3 separate regions of the Homo sapiens genome follow, and all the other regions are linked to region 1. The links are contacts of gene promoters, found by promoter capture Hi-C in human tissues and cell types (Jung and others, 2019). All regions are on one chromosome and are shown on one strand. The core of a region is centred on a gene start or on the middle of the fragment in contact, and the rest is flanking DNA. Distances in the headings are between cores, read along the strand shown. Region 1 holds the start of RABEP2 (rabaptin, RAB GTPase binding effector protein 2). Region 2 holds the start of ZNF771 (zinc finger protein 771). Region 3 holds the start of SRCAP (Snf2 related CREBBP activator protein).

What was found. Contacts are between HindIII fragments. The study calls those that stand out against the background at their distance.
Region 2: a contact is called between the fragment with the promoter of ZNF771 here and the fragment with the promoter of RABEP2 in region 1, in 1 of the 25 tissues and cell types used here (small bowel).
Region 3: the fragment with the promoter of SRCAP here is called in contact with the fragment with the promoter of RABEP2 in region 1 in 1 of the 25 tissues and cell types used here (stomach).

The regions. Positions count from the first base shown.
Region 1 is chr16:28,923,461-28,927,361 of GRCh38, reverse strand. RABEP2 (rabaptin, RAB GTPase binding effector protein 2) reads left to right here and starts at 2,124. Exons shown (of 13, transcript NM_024816.3): 1 at 2,124-2,259; 2 at 2,747-2,959. The coding sequence starts at 2,199. RefSeq lists enhancers at 1,081-1,664, 2,643-2,872, 2,903-2,992 and silencers at 1,883-2,232, 2,263-2,482. The HindIII fragment of the contact is 23,237 bases long and covers 1-3,901 here.
Region 2 is chr16:30,405,635-30,410,034 of GRCh38, reverse strand. It overlaps ZNF771 (zinc finger protein 771), which reads right to left and starts at 2,429. Exons shown (of 3, transcript NM_001142305.2): 1 at 2,371-2,429; 2 at 1,841-1,990. The coding sequence starts at 1,981. RefSeq lists silencers at 370-459, 2,294-2,503, 2,526-2,705. The HindIII fragment of the contact is 10,608 bases long and covers 1-3,895 here.
Region 3 is chr16:30,697,177-30,700,973 of GRCh38, reverse strand. SRCAP (Snf2 related CREBBP activator protein) reads right to left here and starts at 1,803. Exons shown (of 34, transcript NM_006662.3): 1 at 1,732-1,803; 2 at 993-1,066; 3 at 96-358. The coding sequence starts at 149. It overlaps LOC730183 (a long non-coding RNA gene), which reads left to right and starts at 1,914. Exons shown (of 2, transcript NR_144637.2): 1 at 1,914-2,093; 2 at 3,043-3,267. RefSeq lists silencers at 1,783-2,012, 2,153-2,562 and enhancers at 1,732-2,026, 2,683-2,872, 2,903-2,992. The HindIII fragment of the contact is 12,049 bases long and covers 1-3,797 here.

The DNA of each region.
Region 1 (3,901 bases), core at 875-3,374:
TGAGGTCTCACTATGTTGTTCAGGCTGGTCTCGAACCCCTGGGCTCAAGTGATCCTCCTGCCATTGGCCTCCTAAAGTGCTAGCATTATAGGCATAAGCCACCACACTCAGCCAGAGGTGGTTATTTTAGTTAGGGTGATCAGGGAAGGCCTCACTGAGGAGGTAACATTTGAGCCGAGACCTCAGCTCCAAGCTTGGTGGAAAACACTTGGTTTTATACTTGATGAAAAAGTAAGTGCGTGTTTAGTTTTGTTCAAAACTGCCATACTCTTTTTGCAGAGTGGCTATACCATTTCACATTCCCATCAACAAAATATGAGAAACCTAGTTTCTCCACATACTCACCAGCATTTGGTGTTAGCATTCTTATTTTAGCCATTCCAAGAAGTGCGTAGTGATGAAAGCAATTGTGGTTTTAATTTGTATTTCCCGAATAAATAGCTAATGATGTTTAACATCTTTTCATGCACATATTGCCACCTGTGACAGCAGTGAAATATCCGTTCATATCCTTTGTCCATTTTCTTTATTTCAAGTTCTGGGGTACATGTGCACGATGTGCAGGTTTGTTACACAGGGAAACATCTGCCATGGTAGTTTACCGCACCCATTAACCCATCACCTAGGTATCAAGCCCAGGATGCATTAGCTACTCTTGCTGATGCTCTCCCTCCCCCCTCCCAACACCCACCCCACAGGCCCCCATGTGTGTTGGTCCCCTCCCTGTGTCCATGTGTTCTCATTGTTCAGCTCCCACTTATAAGTGAGAACATGCATGTTTAGCTTTCTGTTGCTGCATTAATTTGCTGAGGATAATAGCTTCTAGCTTCATCCATGTCCCTGCAAAGGACATGATCTCGTTCCTTTTTATGGCTGTATAGTATTCCATGGTGTATATGTACCACATTTTCTTTATCCAGTCTATCATTGATGGGCATTTGGGTTGAGTCCATGTCTTTGCTATTTTGAATAGTGCTTCAATGAACATACTCGTGCATGTATCTTTGTAATAGAATGATTTATATTCCTTTAGGTATATACCCAGTAATGGGATTTCTGGGTCAAATGGTATTTCTGGTTCTAGGTCTTTGAGGAATCACCACACTGTCTTCCACAATGGTTGAACTAATTTACATTCCCACCAACAGTGTAAAAGCGTTCTACCTTTGGCCATTTTCAAACTGCATTATCTGTTTTACAAAAATCGCTCCAGCTGCTTTACGGAGAATTAATTAATTAAAGGGTGGAGTCGACACTGCGGAAGTTCAGGAGAAGTGATGGGAGCTGGGACGGAGTGTTAGCGCTGGAGATGGAGAAAAAGGGGCACATTCTGGAATAGTCAGCACATTGGAAGTAGAGTTTACGGGACTTGCAGGAGGACACGTAGAATCAAGGACTTCCAGGTTCCTGGCGTGTCCTTTACAGAGGGAAAAAAGGTTTGAGGGAAGGGGAACCAAGGCTCTGGACATAAATCTGAATTGCCTGTCACCGTCCGGGTGGAGGTCACAGATAAAGAGCCTGATCTAGACACAGGCGGAGAGGAGAGGAGGGATTTGAGGGCGTTGGGAGGAGGAAAGGGGGGCCAGCAGGAAGCGGTGACTGGCTGAGTAACAAAATGGGGGTGGGGACGTGCAAGTTTCAGACTCCGACTAACTACGCGGGGACTCCGAGGCGCTCAGAAAAATGAAGCCGACCCGGCCCTGCCCCGAGGGACGCTCCAAGAGGGCGGAGGTGCAGGGAGGGCCCCGCCACAATTCGCGGTAACGCAAGCCAGGCTCGGGCGGAAGGGCGGCCGGAGCCGATCAAAGGCTGGCTCCGGGCAGGGGCAGCGAGGGAGCGAGGGGGAGCTCTCCGCAGGCCGGTGTCCCGGAGGAGGCATAATTGGAGCAGGGCTTCCAAGGTCACGGAGAGACGCCGGGCAAGACCTCTTAAGGATCCTCTTCCGGGCTTGAAAGGCAGGCGTCCTCCCGAACCGCGCGACCCAGCCAAGAAGAGCCGGGGCGGGGCCGGGGCCGGGGCCGGGGGCCGACTCGGGAATCTTCGGCCGAGGCTCGGCAATCCCCCCATCCTCCGTCCGGGGCCTCCAGCCCGGGGCCGATCCGGAAACAGCCGAGCGGATCCGGAAACAGCCGAGAGGACCCGGAAGCGGTGCGCTCCGTCACCAGGGAGTGCGGGAATCCGCCGTTTGCGCTGAGGCAATGGCGGCAGCTGCGCCGGTGGCCGCGGACGACGATGAGCGGCGGCGGCGGCCGGGGGCTGGTACGTGAGGGGGCGTCCGTGCAAGCGGGGAACGGTGATGCTGGGGGCGGGGCCGAGCCAGCCACCTGCGGATGGGGGGTGGAGAGGGATGATGGAGGAAGGGGCGGGGCCACGCCGTCGGGAAAGGGGGCGGGGCCTACAGCCACAGGCAAAAGGGGGCGTGGCCCGGCCATTGAAGGGGTAGGGCCAGTGACAGGTGCGAAGTGGGGCCCGGTGAGGAAGGGGCGCGGCCACTAGGAGGGCGGGGCCAGGTGGGACCGAAGAGAGGACTGAGTGAAACTGGCCACCGCGAAGAGATGGAGTGTAGGCAGCACCCGGCAGAGCGAGTGGGAAGGGGGCGGGGCAGGGGCGGGGCCAGGTGAGCCGGGCGGGCCCAGGTGAAGGAGGCCCCAGATGAAGGCAACAGTACTAGGTTGCAGGACTTGCTAAGCCGGTAGGTGGCCTGGGGTAAGAGATGGGAAGAGAGGCTGATCCCTGTCCCCCACAGCACTGGAGGACTCCCGGTCCCAGGAAGGGGCAAATGGTGAGGCCGAGTCAGGTGAGCTCAGCCGGCTTCGGGCTGAGCTGGCAGGCGCCCTGGCAGAAATGGAAACCATGAAGGCTGTGGCAGAGGTGAGCGAGAGCACGAAGGCCGAGGCTGTGGCTGCGGTGCAGCGGCAGTGCCAAGAGGAGGTGGCCTCGCTGCAGGCCATCCTGAAAGGTGAGACGCGGGACTCACCTAGACTCCCCATCAACCCCATACTGGGGAGTGCATGACGAGAAAGGGATTGGGGGCACAGATAAGCTATGGGATAGGTTAGCAGGGCTGCCTGGCACAGGGCATGCCTATGGCCCAGAGGAAGGGCCGCCCTTTTAAAATTTGCATAGAGGCCCTCCATGTGATAGCAGCAGCTCTGTCAGTTATAGCTAAGTTTAGCTCCCAGCTTCTATCTGTTGCCTTGTCCCATGTCATTTCTTGTCCCTCACTGATGATTGATCAACCCTGAAGATGGGCGAGAAACTTCTCAGTTCCCCAAACCAACCTCATTTTAGTCTGGACTTCTGGGAAATAGAATCAGCCCTGGCCCAGTCTCTGTGAGTCTAATGCTCTGCTCTCTAGCCTTCCCCAGACACTCCCCCCTCCACCCCACGCCATGCACCAGCTTCCCCACCTCCGCCCCACGTTCTTTGTACTTGGTCCTCTGGCCCCAGACGCCCCAGCTGCTGATCCTGTTTTCTACTCTCCTTCCTCTAGCAGAAGCCAGAGACTCTGAAACAGATGTCAGAGCTGCCCCCGCTGCTATGCCCCTGCTGCGGTGGGGCTCTCGTCAACTCTCTCCTGGACTTTTGTCCCAACCTTCTCACAGATCTTCCTCTATAGTGTGGCCTTGACATTGGCTTCCAGAGTAAACTTCCTAAAATTCCCTTCCCAACATGCGATTTCCCTTTCTAACAGCTGCTGGTGGCTGGAGACTTCTCTGGGGCTGTATTTCCCACATTTCAGGATCCACCTGCCTGTGCAATGTAGACACATCCTTGTACAACTTACTGTGCTGTTTACTTAATATTTGTTCTTTAAATAGATCCACATTTTAAAAGTTTACATACATTTATTAAGGGAAACTTGTTATATCTACTATATAAGAAAAGCCAGGTGTGTCCT
Region 2 (4,400 bases), core at 1,180-3,679, 1.5 Mb before region 1:
AACTATTTCCGTGTTTATTTTGTGCCAGACACAGTTCTAACTCTGTGCATGTGTTGACTCATTCATTCCTCACAACTCCAAGATGTAGGTGCTGTTATAATTTCCCTTTTACAAATGAGGAAACTGAGGCGTGGAGCGGTTAGGAAACTTGGCCAAGGTCACACAGCGGGTAAATGATGGAGCTGGAAGTCCACCCTAAGCTCTGGAGCCTGTGTTTGTAACTTAGAGGCCAAAGGTGGAGATCAGGCAATCGCAGGGCCAGAAGAGGCAGGCAGAGCTGGATAATGGGCGAAGGGGGCCCGCAACAAACACAACCAGATAGTTATTAGACTATCCAGAGGCCTAAGGAGCTAGTCCCCTCCCCCAGCACCCAGCAGGCCCACTAGGGGGCAGCAGAGCATTCTTTCCCTGGGAACTGGCTCCTGGGCAGGAAGAATCAGAGTCCCGGCCCCTGCAAGCTGGGTCCCTGGGGCCAAAGCCCTCTGCTGGTACTCAGGGCTGCTCAGGCTGGGGGCAGACAGAATCCTCTGGGGTTCTGAGAAGCGGAAACGTATCTGGTGGCAGTTAGGGTCTCCAGGGGGTGAAATTTAACTCATATTCTGATCTCAAAACCTTCAAATACCCTCAGAATAAAAGCCAGACTCCCTGTGTGGCCTGCCAACCACCCCCACTCATCCACACTACAGCATGACCGAACCACCCACCCTCACTGCTGCAGTGCACTACTCACTCGTCTGAGCCTCTATAAGGGCCATTTCTGGCTGGATACGGTGGCTCACACCTATAATCCCAGCACTTTGGGAGGCTGAGGTGGGAGGATCACCTGAACTCAGGAGTTTGAGACCAGTCTGGCCAACATGGCAAAACCCCAACTCTACTGAAAATACAAAAAATTAGCCGGGCGTGGTGGTGCATGCCTGTAATCCCAGCTTCTTGGGAGGCTGAGGTAGGAGAACCACTTGAACCCGGGAGGTGGAGGCTGCAGTGAGCCGAGATCACGCCACTGCACTCCAGCCTGGGCAACAGAGCGAAACTCTGTCTCAAAACAAAACAAAAAAAAATTAGCCAGGTGTAGTGGTGCATGCCTGTAGTCCCAGCTACTTGGGAGGCTGAGGTGGGAGGATCACCTGAGCCCAGGGAAGTCAAGGCTGCAGTGAGCTGTACTGCACTACAGCTTGGGTGACTGAATGAGACCCTGTCTCAAACAATAACAACAGTAATAATAAAAGAGCCATTTCCTCTGACTGGGTCCATCACCCCACTTCTGACCCCAGACTCCTACTAGTCTCACATAAGCCATCCTTTTACTTTGAGACCTGTGGCCAGTTACCAAACTGCCCTGGGCCTCAGTCTCCTCATCTGTAAAATGGAATAAATGCTACCGACATCATAGAATCGAGGTGCTTAGAACAGTGCCTGGCACATAGAAAATGCTAGGCAAGGGTTAGCTATTGTTACTGTTGCTGTTGAACTAACCTGACCTTTCCCCAACCTCTAAATCTGAGTTAAGTTCCCACTTCTAGGCTTCATCATCCCCCTGTACCTGCAGCCATCACACGGGATTCTAACTGTGTGGTTACCCTTCAGTCTAACATCAAGCTCCATGGGGGATCCAAGGACGGAGTTTAATCTCCTGCACCCAGCAGGAAGCCTGGGACAGTAGGCGTGACTTTTGTATGATGGAAGCCCAGGCAGTAGGGCAGAAGGATGGGCCAATCCTGAGGTTTTAGATCCGAGATTCTGGGAAAAGTAGGGGCAAGATCCCTGGCTTCTATCTGAGGGAGGCTGGGCCTGGACCAGGTTTGGGGACAGTGTGCCCCAGGGTGTGTGTGACACATACCTCCTTGTTGTCCATGGGGATCTTGAGTTTCACCACCTCATACTTCTCCTCACCCTCATCCTCCTCACCCTTCACCAGCAGCACCATCTCCTCCTGCATCTCTTCCTCCTCCTCTTCCTCTGCCTGCTGTTCGCCAGGCATCTTGGTGTCCTGAGGCGGGGAGCTGGATCAGAAGCTCAGGACCCGCCCCCCCCCACCCCCCCCCCCGCCCACCGTGGCCCTGGCCCAGCAAGGCAGTGCAGCCGTGGCTTCTCCCGCCCTGCCCTGGTCTCCGAATCTGGTCCTCTCCCGTCCACCCCAGCCCGGCCCCACGCTCTGGCACAGCCCCGGGACCAGCTCCGAGGGCTCGCGTTCACCCCACTCATCCCAGCATTCAAGGCCTTGAACAGTTCGAATCTCCAGCCCCCGCAAGTCGCCACCATCCTTGCGCTGAGTCACTCCCCAGGGCCCGGGTCGGCGACCTGGAGCTCTGGGGCACGGGCTGGAGGCGGGATCGGGGCGGAAACCCCGGGGAGGGGGTGCGCACTCACCAGCCGAAGGTTCGGCACTCGCGGTGCCCCAGGCCTGGGCGCCGGGCGGCTGGGCACTCAGCGAGGCCGCGGCTCCGGGGGCGGGGAGGGGGCGGGACCGCAGGGACGGCCGGTCATTGGTCCGAACATATAGCCCCACCCCCTGGGGCGGAGCCCGAAGGACCCAGGCGTCCGGCCCAAACGGCTCGGAGAGGGCGGCGAGCTCAGACTTGGCGTCCTCCGCAGTCCCCCGACTCCCAAGCACCTGGAGCCGCCCCAGCCCGGCGTTCAAGGTCCTTGCCGCCGAGTTCCAACCTAACCTCGCGGCCCGTCTCCTGGGGCCGGCTTGGAGGTCTCCGCTGCGCCCAGTGCCTCTGCTCCGCCCGAAATAGGCCACGTGCGCTCCCGCCCCGGCCTGGGCCTCTCCCTGGCGCCCCGCCTGGAGGGCGGACCCTGTTGCCTCCTCACTTCTTCCATTCCCTCTTTATCTCCTCTGCCGTCTTTTCTCCATCTTTCTCGGCTTCGCCTATTCCGCTGGCCTCTGGGATATCCTTGAATACATCCTAACCAATTCAACATCCACCCAAGCTACCGCTGTCGCGTCATGCGTGGGGTGCTTACCATGCGCCAGCGCTGTTCAGCGTCTTACATACCTGGTCTCATTTGATCCGCATAACGATGGGTCCTGATCCATTTTACAGATGAGCTCACTGAAGTTCAGGGAGGTAAACTGATTTGCCTAAGTTACACGATAAGGATGTCATAGCATCCCTGACAATCAGTAGCCTAGGTGAACAACAGCCCAAAGCTAAATCCAGTCCACAGGGGTACCTTGTTTGGCCCTTAGGGTATTTTTACTTTTAAAAAATCTTTTCGGACGGGCACGGCGGCTCACGCCTGTAATCCCAGCACTTTAGGAGGCCGAGGCGGGCGGATCACGAGGTCAGGAGATAGAGACCATCCTGGCTAACACGGTGAAACCCCGACTCTACTAAACAAAATACAAAAAATTAGCTGGGCGTGGTGGCGGGCACCTGTAGTGCCAGCTACTCGGGAGGCTGAGACAGGAGAATGGCGTGAACCCGGGAGGCGAGCTTGCAGTTAGCCGAGATCGCGCCACTGCGCTCCAGCCTGGGCGACAGAGCGAGACTCCGTCTCAAAAAAAAAAAAAAAAAAAAAAAAAAAAAATCGTTTCAAAGCCGGGCGCGGTGGCTCATGCCTGTAATCCCAGCACTTTGGGAGGCGGAGGCCGGTGGATCACTTGAGGTCAGGATTTCGAGACCAGCCTAACCAACATGGTGAAACCCCGTCTCTACTAAAAATACAAAAATTAGCCAAGCTTGGTGGTGCATGCCTGTAATCCCAGCTACTCGAGAGGCTGAGGCACGAGAATTGCTTGAACTGGGGAGGCAGTGGTTGCAGTGAGCCGAGATCATGCCATTGGTCTCCAGCCTAGGCAACAAGAGCGAAACTCCGTCTCAAGAAAAAAAAAATTAAATTGGGATATTTCATATAAAAATAGATTTTTTTTTAGTGGAATAAACAAATGCCACTTCCTTTGAAAAACAGCCACTTCCCTTGAAAAAGCAGATATCTAATTTTCCCATTTTATGAATGGGGCAACTAAGATTCAGAAATCATGAAGGAAAACAGAAATAACATTCAGTAAGTGCTTACAAGTTCTATGTTGTCTCTTTACAACAGCCCTGTTGGGATCAATAATATCTCCATTGGACAAAAGAAGAAACGGAAGCTTAGACAAGTTAAGTAATTTGCTCAAAGTCACACAGCTGGCAAGCAGCAGATTCAAAGCTTGTGCTCTTCTATTGCACCAAATTACCTCTCAGGAATGAAGTTATAAAACTGGCTCTTTCCCAGAGCTGGGAGAAGGGGTCAAATGCCTGGATACTCACACACAGGATCCCCAAAAGCCACTTTGCATTCATTCTCTGAGTTTTTTTTTTTTTTTTTTTTTTTTTTTGAGATGGAGTCTTGCTCTGTCGCCCAGGTTGGAGTGCAATAGCACAGTCTAGGCTCACTGCAACCTCCGC
Region 3 (3,797 bases), core at 554-3,053, 1.8 Mb before region 1:
ACTCTCCACAAATATTCCCCTGCCACATTTCTTCTGCCTCACACTCAACAATCCACAAAGCAGAAGCAGAGAAGGAACTCTTCCCACTTTCAAACCTGTGTCTGTAGGACTGGGAGCTGAGGGTGAGCAGGGGAGGGGCTGCTCTGCATGGTCCCACTCCCAGGCTCCCCCTTGGATGCCTGAAGAATGACTGGGTTGTTATCACCAGTACTGCTGGCCGAGGGGCTGGCGTCCGGCTGCAGGGCATGCTGGGAGCTGGCCTCATTCTGGGCCACCGGCCACCGGGACCCGCCTTCCAGGGCCCGGGGCCCACCAGGGCGTCCCAGCCTCCGCTCAGGTCCACCAGCCTCTGGAGCACCTAAAGTAGGGTTAAAAAAAAAAAAAAAGACAGAAATGCAGTTAAAGGGGATGAAAAAGTATTTTTAAAAAACCAGAAATAACACTGAATAAAGAGAAACACAGAAATTACAGGTTACATTTCTTGAGCACTTACTATGTATAAGATACTTTTAGTACCTGTTTGATGTGTTCTATAATCCTCACACCTACCTTAAAAACCAAGTGCTTTTCACAGCATAACAAATATTGACTTCCTCCTACACACAACGGATATAGCCATGCAGAAAGGATTCCCGACCTAAATGTAGCTTACATTCTAATATAATCTGTTTTGTAAGTTACGAAGTTAAGACCTTATGATTTGCGGAAGGTTACACAGTAAAAAAGTGATAGGAGGGCTTCAATCCACAGTCTGATGCCAAAACCAAGGAAAACCTGCTACTCTTCCTGGTAGAGCCAGGTTGACCACGTTTTCCTCAACCCACAGCCTCAGTTCTGTTGTTGTACTATAATCAAACCCTCTACAGAAAAATCACATGCAAACATTCCCATGCTTCTCTAGAGTGAAAATCCCCAATACGGACCTATAATTGCTTTATCTCAAACATTTCTCCCATTAGCATCAGCACACAAAATGGTAGCAGATCCCTCACCTGTGTGAGCTGAGACCACACCCCCTGTGAAAGTCTGCACTTCCACGGTGCCGCCGTACTGAAGGGAATCACACCTGAAACATCCATCAAAGCGTATTATTTACTCCAGTTTTTTGAGACGTTTAAATATACCCAAATCAGTTAAAAGACTAGAAACAGAAAAACTACAGTAGTAGGAAAATCTCACATTTCAGGGAAATGCAAATCATGTTTTGTGAATTCCGGAGGGACATACGATCCTGCCTGGGGGCAGGAGCAGGAAAGGAGTGAAGAAAGAAAGTTCAAAAATTTTAAGTGTAAAGGCTCCAACCACAGAATGGAAGACAAAAAAAAAATACAGCAAAAAAAAGCTGTCACATCCAGAACCTCAGAAAGGTGCTACCTGCCTGCGGGCCTTTCCAGTGAGGGCTGAACGCAGAAGTGAGAGTGGAACTCCCGGGAAGAGTCAACAAACAGGCTGGTCACAGGAAAATCCGCCCAGGATTCAGGGCAGGGCGCTGTATATCCCATACCTGCGCCTTGAGACACTTCCCCAAATACAAGAACCACAGCAAAAGGAGACTCAGGAGCAGTCAAAAGCGAGAGGCCGCACTGCCAAGAACCACGCGCCGGAAACAGGCAGTGTGAACCCGCAGGAGGCCCGGAAATGCTTCCCCAGTGTTTAAGGAAATTCCTAAACCACAGTGCCGGCTTTGATTCACTCCCTACTCCGCCACACGTTCCCAAGACCCGAGCTCACCAGAAGCCAACAAGCCTTAACTCTTGACTTCAGGTTTCGTGACCATCTCCCTAGCCCTCCCGACGGACTGACCTCGCGTGACCCCTGACCTCTGCCCAAGTTGCCACTAGCCCTGAGATAGCCCCGCCCCCTCCAGACTCCCACCCCACCCAACGTGCGCGCCGGGCGGGGGAGGGGCCCGCGCGTGCGCGGCTGGAGGCGGAGCGAGCCGGCTGCGCGCACGGCCCAGGGGCTCCCGCCAGAACCCGAGCCCACGCACACAAGGGTCGCGGGGCTGGGAAGCTCGTCATCCAAGCCCGTCAGGGAGCCCCCCCATCACCCGACCGCGAAAGGCTGAGAGAAGGGAGGGTTCGTGCCACCAGGTCCTGGTCCCCCGGCTAGATGTGGTGGGCGCGCGCCCCGACTACTCGTCCCACGCCCCCCTTCCTCTTCCCGCGCGCCCCTGAGGGGTGACTGGGTTGGTGGGCGGGCAGGAGCGCACCTGGGTCCGTCCTCTCAGGGCTCGCTCGCTCGCTCGCTCGCTCAGGCACGCGTGCGCAGAAGGGCGGGAAGGGAGAGGAGACACGCCGGGGCCCAGCGCCGGCCGGCCTGACCCCCTCAGTCTGTCTCTATGGGCGCGCGCCGACAGCCTCGCGCACCGGCCCCGGGGCCCCGGCTGAGGGTGCGCGCGCAGCACCCCGGGAAGGTGGGGGGGAGGCGGTGGCGGAAAGATGCGCGCGCAGTCAGCCGTCATGGGAGGGGGAACTGTGGGGCGTTCGCCATCTTGTCTCCCTCTCCTTACCTGCGTCCTCGGGGGCGTGCGCACCACCCCCCCTCCCGCCTAGGAGGGGGGAGGGCCCCCTCTTGGCCACCGCCTTCGCGGCCTTTAAACTCCCCTGGAGACTGCGGCTACTGCCACCGCCTTGCCTCCACTGCCTCTTCGCGCAGCACACAGATGCGGACGGTGGGTGGGAAAAAGGGCAGACGCTACTCCCAGCGAACCGCCGCTGCCGCTCCCGAGGCCTCACCAAAATGGCCGCCGCCGTCTCGGCCGCCACCACCACCACTACCACCACCACTCGCTCGGAATCGCTATCGCCGGCGCGGCCCGTCTTCTCGCGAGAGACAGTAACTGGAGGGTGGGGGAACGGGGAGGCTCGCGTGCTAGCGTAGGGTGCAGCACGGTGCGCAAGGCAGCCTGGGAGGTGTAGTCTCCCAGAGGCTGCGCGCTCGCCCTTCCTCGGAGCGCCTTTACCGTTTGCCCCTAGATCTACCTGGGGCTGCATTGCGGCTGCCAGCTCGGACCACCGCCACCTCCCTTTTTATTTACAGATCACCCAGTAAGCTGCAGCAAGTTAGCAGTGGAACCTGGGCCTCCCGATTCCCATGGCAGCCCACTTCTGTAGCGCTGCTTCGTTTTACGCGAGGATGGTTTCCTGATAGCTTTCAAACACCTTTGCCATCTCTTCGCAAACTTTCTAGATTAAGAATCCCTTTGAGAATCTGATACCTTTACCCCAGAATAGAACAATAAATAACAGCTACCTTCTACTGACACTACTTGGTGCCTTGATTATTTCTTTTAATCCTAACTGCTCCATTTTACAAACGAATTGAGGCTCAGGCGTTAAAACACAGTGACAGATCCTGAAGTCAAGATTCCTAGCCAAGCAGTCTAAGCCACAAGAATGCACTCGCTGTCATAAAATTTTACCACCTAAAGCCCCCGCTAAGAGGCCAGGTTAGGAAGCCCTGATGAAGCTCCCCTTCCTCCATTCAGTTTAGCTCTTCCCTGCGAAGAGGATTGTTGGTCCCATTTTACAGATGAAGTTTGGGTTGAAAGAAAAGTGGATGATGCCCATCTTTTCTAGACCCTCCTCCCATCACCCCCAGAAGAGGGGATCCCAGGCCAGAGCCTGAATTGGACCTAGCCTTGTGCCATTAACTCCTTGCTATGTGACCTTGAGCAATTAACTTCACCTTTCTGAGCTTCAGTTTCCTCTGTAAAGTGAGGATAGAATTGCTGATGTAAAATTGCTTTGAAAGATCTAAAGGGCCAGGTGCGGTGGCTCACACCTGTAACCCCA